Linked DNA regions of Homo sapiens: region 2 is linked to region 1. The links are contacts of gene promoters, found by promoter capture Hi-C in human tissues and cell types (Jung and others, 2019). All regions are on one chromosome and are shown on one strand. The core of a region is centred on a gene start or on the middle of the fragment in contact, and the rest is flanking DNA. Distances in the headings are between cores, read along the strand shown.

Region 1 (4,386 bases), core at 481-2,980:
TCAAGTTTGATGGCATAAGTAGCATTTTTTCCTATGGTTGGCCTTTCCCCTCTCCCCTTCCATATAGCATTGCTTACAGGAAGGTTAGGATTTTAAGAGAGAATAATAGAAAATAAGTTTCCAAGCCGTCCTTTCTCCAGAACTACCCTCCACAGTGTTCTGAATGCATACAGGGTCACTGTTCAAATGTTGCTGCTTCTCCTGTTGTCTTCTCATAACAAGGACTTTTTCAGTCAAAGTAAAGAAACTGGCCGGGTGCAGTGGCTCATGCCTGTAATCCCAGCAGTTTGGGAGGCTGAGGCGGGCGGATCACGAGGTCAGGAGATTGAGACCATCCTGGCTAACACGGTGAAACCCCGTCTCTACTAAAAATACAAAAAATTAGCCGGGCGTGGTGGCAGGCACCTGTAGTCCCAGCTACTTGGGAAGCTGAGGCAGGAGAATGGCATGAACCTGGGAGGCACAGCTTGCAGTGAGCCGAGATGGTGCCACTGCACTCCAGCCTGGGCGACAGAGCGAGACTCTGTCTCAAAAACAAACAAACAAAAAAAACAAAACAAACAAACAAACAAACAAAAAACCTTCCTTGGATTTTTCAAGAAGTTTTCACAATTGCAAAAAAACAAAACAAAACAACACAACACAACAAAACAAAACAAAAGCAAAAAAACCCTATGCTTCCACCCAAGGTAAAAATTTTAGCTTTAGGTCCACTCTCAATACATTATTTAATGAACTGAAGTTGGCAAATATTCCTCACAGCCTGTTGGAGGGTTCAGCAGTTTATTACAGAAGTATGAAATGCTTTTATTTAAAAAATGTATTTTGGTAAATACATTTTTGTTTAGGTAAATATCATCAAATAATCCAATTTGGAAACCAACATTCTTACTTCTTTTTCCAACAGTTGTTCCTATCATCATAAAAACATGTTAAATTTTTCTCATCCTTTCAAAAAATCTCTGGAGCTTACCTCACCCTCCAGATACAGCCTCACCTCTCATTCCACCATGAAATCAGACTTCTTGAGATGGTTTCAGCTGGACTCCATCCTTCAACTGACAACCCAACACAACTGTATTCATCTCTCGTTAACATTACTAGCAGTGAGTAACATCAGAAAGTTTTTGACACATGTTAGTCTTTTTTGTGATGAACTTCACAGATACATTTGACATTGGTATGCCTCATTTATTTGTTGAAATTTTTTTCTTTGGCTTCCATGAAGTTTCTTTCTCTTCTGTATCATTCTACTTCTATGACTGCTCCTTCTCGAGTAAAACAGAATGTGTCTCAGGATTACTTTAAAACAAGACAAAGTATAGAGTTATACCTAAAATTTAGTATTTAAGTTATTGGATCAGAAAGGAAACTCGCATTTAGAGTATGAAGGCATTGTCAGCCACCAATTACTTTTGTAACCTGAAGCTAGTCTCCTTCCTACTCCGGACTGAATTTCTTCTGTATAATGCAAGCGATCTGGCATGATGATATACAAAGACCGATAAAATTTTGCTGGGGATTCTGAAAGTAAAAAAAATTGCCTTTGATATTATGTCCCCATGCTAAGTCCCTGGGGACTTTGACATTATCCCCCACTGAGCAGGGGTGAGGAAGCTGGCATTTACTAATAAGCTATGAAAGGGCAGTGCCTTTTGACATTTCAGCTCCACCCATAGCACACCCACTCAAGGAACATATAAATGAAGAGATCCGCTCAGTTCTCAGACAAGATTTTTCAAGCAAGATGAAGTCCATCATCCTCTTTGTCCTTTCCCTGCTCCTTATCTTGGAGAAGCAAGCAGCTGTGATGGGACAAAAAGGTGAGTGGAGAGGGTAAGCCTTGGGGAAAGCTACTTTAAAAAAATGGCCTCTAAGGATATTCAGGGTGCAAACAGTAACCTGTTCAGGCACAGATTCTTCTCCTTGATGAGAATTGATTTTTCTCCACCCAACGCTGTAGGCTTTTGGAAATATCAGAAATTTGTTGGGAAAAGGTGGGAGGTAAGAGTTGCAAGAGAGCTTTGGAGATAATGAATGCATACATTTCTATTATCAATTACCAGGTGGATCAAAAGGCCAATTGCCAAGCGGATCTTCCCAATTTCCACATGGACAAAAGGGCCAGCACTATTTTGGACAAAAAGACCAACAACATACTAAATCCAAAGGCAGTTTTTCTATTCAACACACATATCATGTAGACATCAATGATCATGACTGGACCCGAAAAAGTCAGCAATATGATTTGAATGCCCTACATAAGGCGACAAAATCAAAACAACACCTAGGTGGAAGTCAACAACTGCTCAATTATAAACAAGAAGGCAGAGACCATGATAAATCAAAAGGTCATTTTCACATGATAGTTATACATCATAAAGGAGGCCAAGCTCATCATGGGACACAAAATCCTTCTCAAGATCAGGGGAATAGCCCATCTGGAAAGGGATTATCCAGTCAATGTTCAAACACAGAAAAAAGGCTATGGGTTCATGGACTAAGTAAAGAACAAGCTTCAGCCTCTGGTGCACAAAAAGGTAGAACACAAGGTGGATCCCAAAGCAGTTATGTTCTCCAAACTGAAGAACTAGTAGTTAACAAACAACAACGTGAGACTAAAAATTCTCATCAAAATAAAGGGCATTACCAAAATGTGGTTGACGTGAGAGAGGAACATTCAAGTAAACTACAAACTTCACTCCATCCTGCACATCAAGACAGACTCCAACATGGACCCAAAGACATTTTTACTACCCAAGATGAGCTCCTAGTATATAACAAGAATCAACACCAGACAAAAAATCTCAGTCAAGATCAAGAGCATGGCCGGAAGGCACATAAAATATCATACCCGTCTTCACGTACAGAAGAAAGACAACTTCACCATGGAGAAAAGAGTGTACAGAAAGATGTATCCAAAGGCAGCATTTCTATCCAAACTGAAGAGAAAATACATGGCAAGTCTCAAAACCAGGTAACAATTCATAGTCAAGATCAAGAGCATGGCCATAAGGAAAATAAAATATCATACCAATCTTCAAGTACAGAAGAAAGACATCTCAACTGTGGAGAAAAGGGCATCCAGAAAGGTGTATCCAAAGGCAGTATTTCGATCCAAACTGAAGAGCAAATACATGGCAAGTCTCAAAACCAGGTAAGAATTCCTAGTCAAGCTCAAGAGTATGGCCATAAGGAAAATAAAATATCATACCAATCTTCGAGTACAGAAGAAAGACGTCTCAACAGTGGAGAAAAGGATGTACAGAAAGGTGTATCCAAAGGCAGTATTTCTATCCAAACTGAAGAGAAAATACATGGCAAGTCTCAAAACCAGGTAACAATTCCTAGTCAAGATCAAGAGCATGGCCATAAGGAAAATAAAATGTCATACCAATCTTCAAGTACAGAAGAAAGACGACTCAACTATGGAGGAAAGAGCACGCAGAAAGATGTATCCCAAAGCAGTATTTCTTTCCAAATTGAAAAGCTAGTAGAAGGCAAGTCTCAAATCCAGACACCAAATCCTAATCAAGATCAATGGTCTGGCCAAAATGCAAAAGGAAAGTCTGGTCAATCTGCAGATAGCAAACAAGACCTACTCAGTCATGAACAAAAAGGCAGATACAAACAGGAATCCAGTGAGTCACATAATATTGTAATTACTGAGCATGAGGTTGCCCAAGATGATCATTTGACACAACAATATAATGAAGACAGAAATCCAATATCTACATAGCCCTGTTGCTTAGCAACCACTTGAAAAGCTGGACCAATAGCAAGGTAAGTTTGCTTTTCTTACCAAATAGGAGAGGTGCCTGTCCCAAAGTTGGGGACTCTCCAGGAACATGGTAGGACTGATAACCATTGTTCACATCAATAGAAGTGCTATATTACAAGTGGTGGGAAGATGAACACCATTTCCTGGCGAGTAGAGGACCTGGTAGTGGCAGGGAAGGCTGCTTGGACTATCACTGGGTCCTAGAATTCCTATTCTTAATTGAGTATTCTTCAATAATATTTTTATACATGCCTACCTGCTAAAGATTTTTTTGAACATGCACTGACTATATATGCATATTTATGAGTTTATGGTATACTCTTGTCAATTCTTATACTTTAGATTAGTAAACCTCAAATTCTTTCTCATATAGTATGAAATATTACAGCAGTTAATATTTTCTTTCTGCACATACATGAATGTTCTTGCATCCCTGTTAGAGTTCATCTATGCTCCTTCAGAGACCACAAGCCCAAAGACTAGCAGTCCACTCTCTCTGAATATAGGAAAGATATGAGTAGAAAGAAGGATTCCTGTTCAGATTGTGAAAAAGGAAGTGGAAATGGAGGTGCAGGAGATGCTGAGAGATCTCAGGTGCTAACTGG
Region 2 (4,324 bases), core at 1,211-3,710, 520 kb after region 1:
GGGCTGAGGAGTGCGGGCGCATGGCGCGGGACCGGCAGGCAGCTCCACCTGCGGCCCCAGAGCGGGACCCACTGGGTGAAACCAGCTGCACTCCTGAGTCTAGTGGGGACTTGGAGATCCTTTATGTCTAGCTAGGGGATTGTAAACACACCAATCAGCACTCTGTGTCTAGCTCAGGGTTTGTGGATGCACCAATCGGCACTCTCTATCTAGCTAATCTGGTGGGGACTTGGATAACCTTTATGTCTAGCTAAGGGATTGTGAATACACCAATCAGCACTCTGTATCTAGCTCAAGGTTTGTAAATGCACCAATCAGCACTGTGTGTCTAGCTCAGAGTTTGTAAATACACCAATCAGCACTCTGTATCTAGCTAATCTAGTGGGGACATGGAGAACTTTTGTGTCTAGCTCAGGGATTGTAAATACACCAATCAGCACCCTGTCAAAATGGACCAATCAGCTCTGTTTAAAACAGACCAATCGGCTCTCTGTAAAATGGACCAATCAGCAGGATGTGGGTGGGGCCAGATAAGAGAATAAAAGCAGGCTGCTGGAGCCAGCAGTGGCAACCGGCTCAGGTCCCCTTCCACACTGTGGAAGCTTTGTTCTTTCACTCTTTGCAATAAATCTTGCTACTGCTCACTGTTTGGTCCACACTGCCTTTATGAGCTGTAACACTCACCACAAAGGTCTATAGATTCACTCCTGATGCCATCGAGACCACGAACCTACCGGGAGGAATGAACAACTCCAGACATGCCGCCTTAAGAGCTGTAACCCTCACCACAAAGGTCTGCAGCTTCACTCCTAAGCCAGCGAGACCACAAACCCACCAGAAGGAAGAAACTCCAAACACATCCAAACATCAGAAGGAACGAACTCTGGACATGCCGCCTTTAAGAACTGTGACAGTCAGGCCAGGCGTTGTGGCTCATGCCTGTAATCCCAGCACTTTGGGAGGCCAACGTGGGTGGATCAAGAGGTCAGGAGATCAAGAACATCCTGGCTAACACAGTGGAACCCCATCTCTACTAAAAATAGAAAAAAATTAGCTAGGCGTGGTGGCACACACCTGTAGTCCCAGCTACTCGGGAGGCTGAGACAGGAGAATCGCTTGAACCCAGAAGGCAGAGGTGGCAGTGAGCCGAGATCGCGCCACTGTACTCCATCCTGGGTGACAGAGCGAGACTCTGTCTCAAAAAAAAAGAACTGTAACAGTCACCGCGAGGGTCTGCGGCTTCATTCTTAAAGTCAGTGAGACCAAGAACCCACCAATTCCGGACACAATCTCACACCTGTCAGAATGGCCATTGTCAAAAAAATGAAAAATATCAAGTGTTGGCAGGATGCGGAGAAAAGGAAACCCTTGTACACTGTTAACAGGAATGTAAATTAGTACAGACATTATGGACAACATTATAGAGGCACCTCAAAAAATTAGAATAGAATTAACCTATGACCCAGCAATCCCACTTCTGGGTATTTACTCAAAAGATTGAAACCAGTATGTTGAAGAGATGTCTGCACTCCTATGTTCATTGCATCGACTATTCACAATAGCCAAGTTGTGGAATCAGCCTAACTTTCCATCAACAAATGAATGGATAAAGAAAATGTGTGTTTAGTTATGTACAATGGAATACTATTCAGCCCTTAAAAAGAAATTCATCCTGCTCAACCTGGTCCTAATGCTGCCCTGGCTGCTCAGCTGACCTCCTTTTACCTTCTGATACCTGGATATCCCTCTCCTGTTCAGCCCCACAGTTCCCAACAATTTGGTTCCTGCTCCATGATCAGCATTTTCAATAAACCAGACACTCCAGAGAAAAAAAAAAAAAGAAAGAAATTCAGTCAGTTGTGACAACATGGGTGAAACTGAAGAACATTATCCTAAATTAAAATAAGTCTACACAGAAAGACAAATACCATATGTTCTCACTTACATGTAGAATCTAAAACAATCAAACTCATAGAAGCAGAATTAGAATGGTGGTTACCAGAGGCTGGAGTGTTGGGGGAAATGGGGAGATGATTGTAAAGGGTACAAAGCCTCAGACTAGAAGGATAAGATTTTTTCAAGATCTATTAACACAATGTGGTGAATATAGTTAATAATAGTATATTGTGCACTTCAAAATCACTAAGAGTAGATTTCAAATGTTCTCACCACAAAAAAATAAGTATTTGAGATTATGAATATGTTAATTTGGTTGATTTGATTATTCCAATCAAATCATAAATTATAACATCACTTTGTACCCCATAAATATATACAACAAGCTCGACACAGTGGCTCCTGCCCATAACCCCAGCACTTTGGAAGACTGAGGCAGGAGGATTGCTTGAGCCCAGGAGTTCAAGACCAGCCTGGGCAACATAGTGAGACATTGTCTCTACAAAAAAAAAAAAAAAAAAAAAACACAAAATTAGTCGGGTGTGGTGGTGCCCACCTGTAATTCCAGCTACTCAGGAGGCTGAGGGGGGAGGATTGCTTGAGCCCAGGAGATCGAGGCTAGTGTGAGCCAAGATCATGCCACTGCACTCCAGCCTGGGTGACAGAGCAAGACCCCAAGTCAAAAAAAAACCTATATATAGTTATAGTTTACAAAACTATATATATAGTTATATATAGTTATAGTTTACAAAACTATATATAGTTATATATATAGTTATAGTTTACAAAACTATATATAGTTATATATAGTTATAGTTTACAAAACTATATATAGTTATATATATAGTTATAGTTTACAAAACTATATATAGTTATATATATAGTTTACAAAACTGTATATATAGTTATATATAGTTTACAAAACTGTATATATAGTTATATATAGTTTACAAAATTGTATATATAGTTATATATATGGTTTACAAAACTATATATAGTTATATATATGGTTTACAAAACTGTATATATAGTTATATATATGGTTTACAAAACTGTATATATAGTTATATATATGGTTTACAAAACTATATATGTAACATATACAAGTTATAGTTGCATATATATATATAGATACACACACAACTATAACTTGTCGAAAATGAATTTTTTTTAAAAAGCCCAAAAAATGGCTCAATATAAACAAATCCCAGTGTAGAAAATGCCTCAGTTCCCCGAGATTTACAATAATGATCACAGCCCCCAACTGTCCCATCCTTAATTTTCTCAAGTTTATATGTTTAGGCAACTTAGGGCACTATGAATGGGAAGGACAATTCTACAAGGAAAAGTTGGAATGCTATTATTAGATGTGAAATATACTGATGAGCAGACCTAAACAACTGCTGTTCACTACCTCCCAACCCTTGACTATTCCATGCATATACTCTCTCCTTTCTGTTCATAAATATGTTTAATGCCTTGGTCTAACATCACAAAAAGTACTTACCTACTCCTTAAAGGGAGACAATCGAAAGTCAGCTCCGACTCCTTCAACTGGCTACAAGTATAAAATCTCTAAATGAGCTCTATCTGTATATTACCAATAAATACTGTGAAAAAAGTGGTTAATTATATCATAAACCAACATACCCTATATAAAACAATAAAAGAAATAAAAAATAAATGCTTGAAAAATATTAATGCTACAACACAATGATTAGGAAAATACAGGTAGCTTTATTTGTGCTGTTCATTATAAGCCCGTAATAGCTGACTTGCGTTAACAATCCTCCTCTATTATGCATTTCATACTTTTGTGTTTAGCCAATACCACAAATAAGCTGTGTTCTTTATGTAAAACTTCATTTCTGTGTGATATTAGCTTTTGAGAGAACTGCCTGGGCAGGCTTTACATTTTCCCATCTTTTGGACTTTAATGGCTCCCATTATATTTTACAACTGAGATGGGGTACAATTATATGTATATATTTTTCAAGGTAGCTAAGGTGAAAATTAACCCTATTTTATCTTCACAGTTTCAAAAATTGCAGGCAAACTGTAATACCCATCTTTTGTCAATTTTTTTATTCTTATGAAGAGACTGAAGTGGCCAGATATAAATGTCAACTCTGAATTGAACAGGTCCATTTTTTAATTGCTTGATGAAAGTATTCCCCCATTTAGACACAAAAACAATCAAACCAGTAGAGTGCATAATCATAAGAATGGGAAGCAAAACTATTACAAAGTAGAATCTTAAATACTACCTACACCAACTTGGTCCCCAAACCTATGTGTTTTGACGATGCTACAAAGAACATAAGCTCAGGGCTTATACTGCATACAGCAAGGGAAATCCCCAGCCTTGAAACATAGTTGCATCTTCAACTTTATAAGACAATATGCCTCTAGAGATGGTAATACACTA

Evidence for each region. The method cuts DNA at HindIII sites, captures the fragments that hold promoters and counts their contacts. A contact is called where the count stands out against the background at its distance.
Region 2: a fragment that was not itself captured here is called in contact with the fragment with the promoter of SEMG2 in region 1 in 1 of the 25 tissues and cell types used here (mesenchymal stem cells).

What each region holds. Positions count from the first base shown.
Region 1 is chr20:45,219,643-45,224,028 of GRCh38, forward strand. It overlaps SEMG2 (semenogelin 2), which reads left to right and starts at 1,731. Exons shown (of 3, transcript NM_003008.3): 1 at 1,731-1,823; 2 at 2,067-3,783. The coding sequence starts at 1,748. The coding sequence ends at 3,739. The HindIII fragment of the contact is 14,800 bases long and covers 1-4,037 here.
Region 2 is chr20:45,736,261-45,740,584 of GRCh38, forward strand. No RefSeq gene overlaps it. Among named protein-coding and RNA genes, the nearest start is that of SPINT4, 16 kb to the left of the region's middle. The HindIII fragment of the contact is 5,137 bases long and covers 1-4,324 here.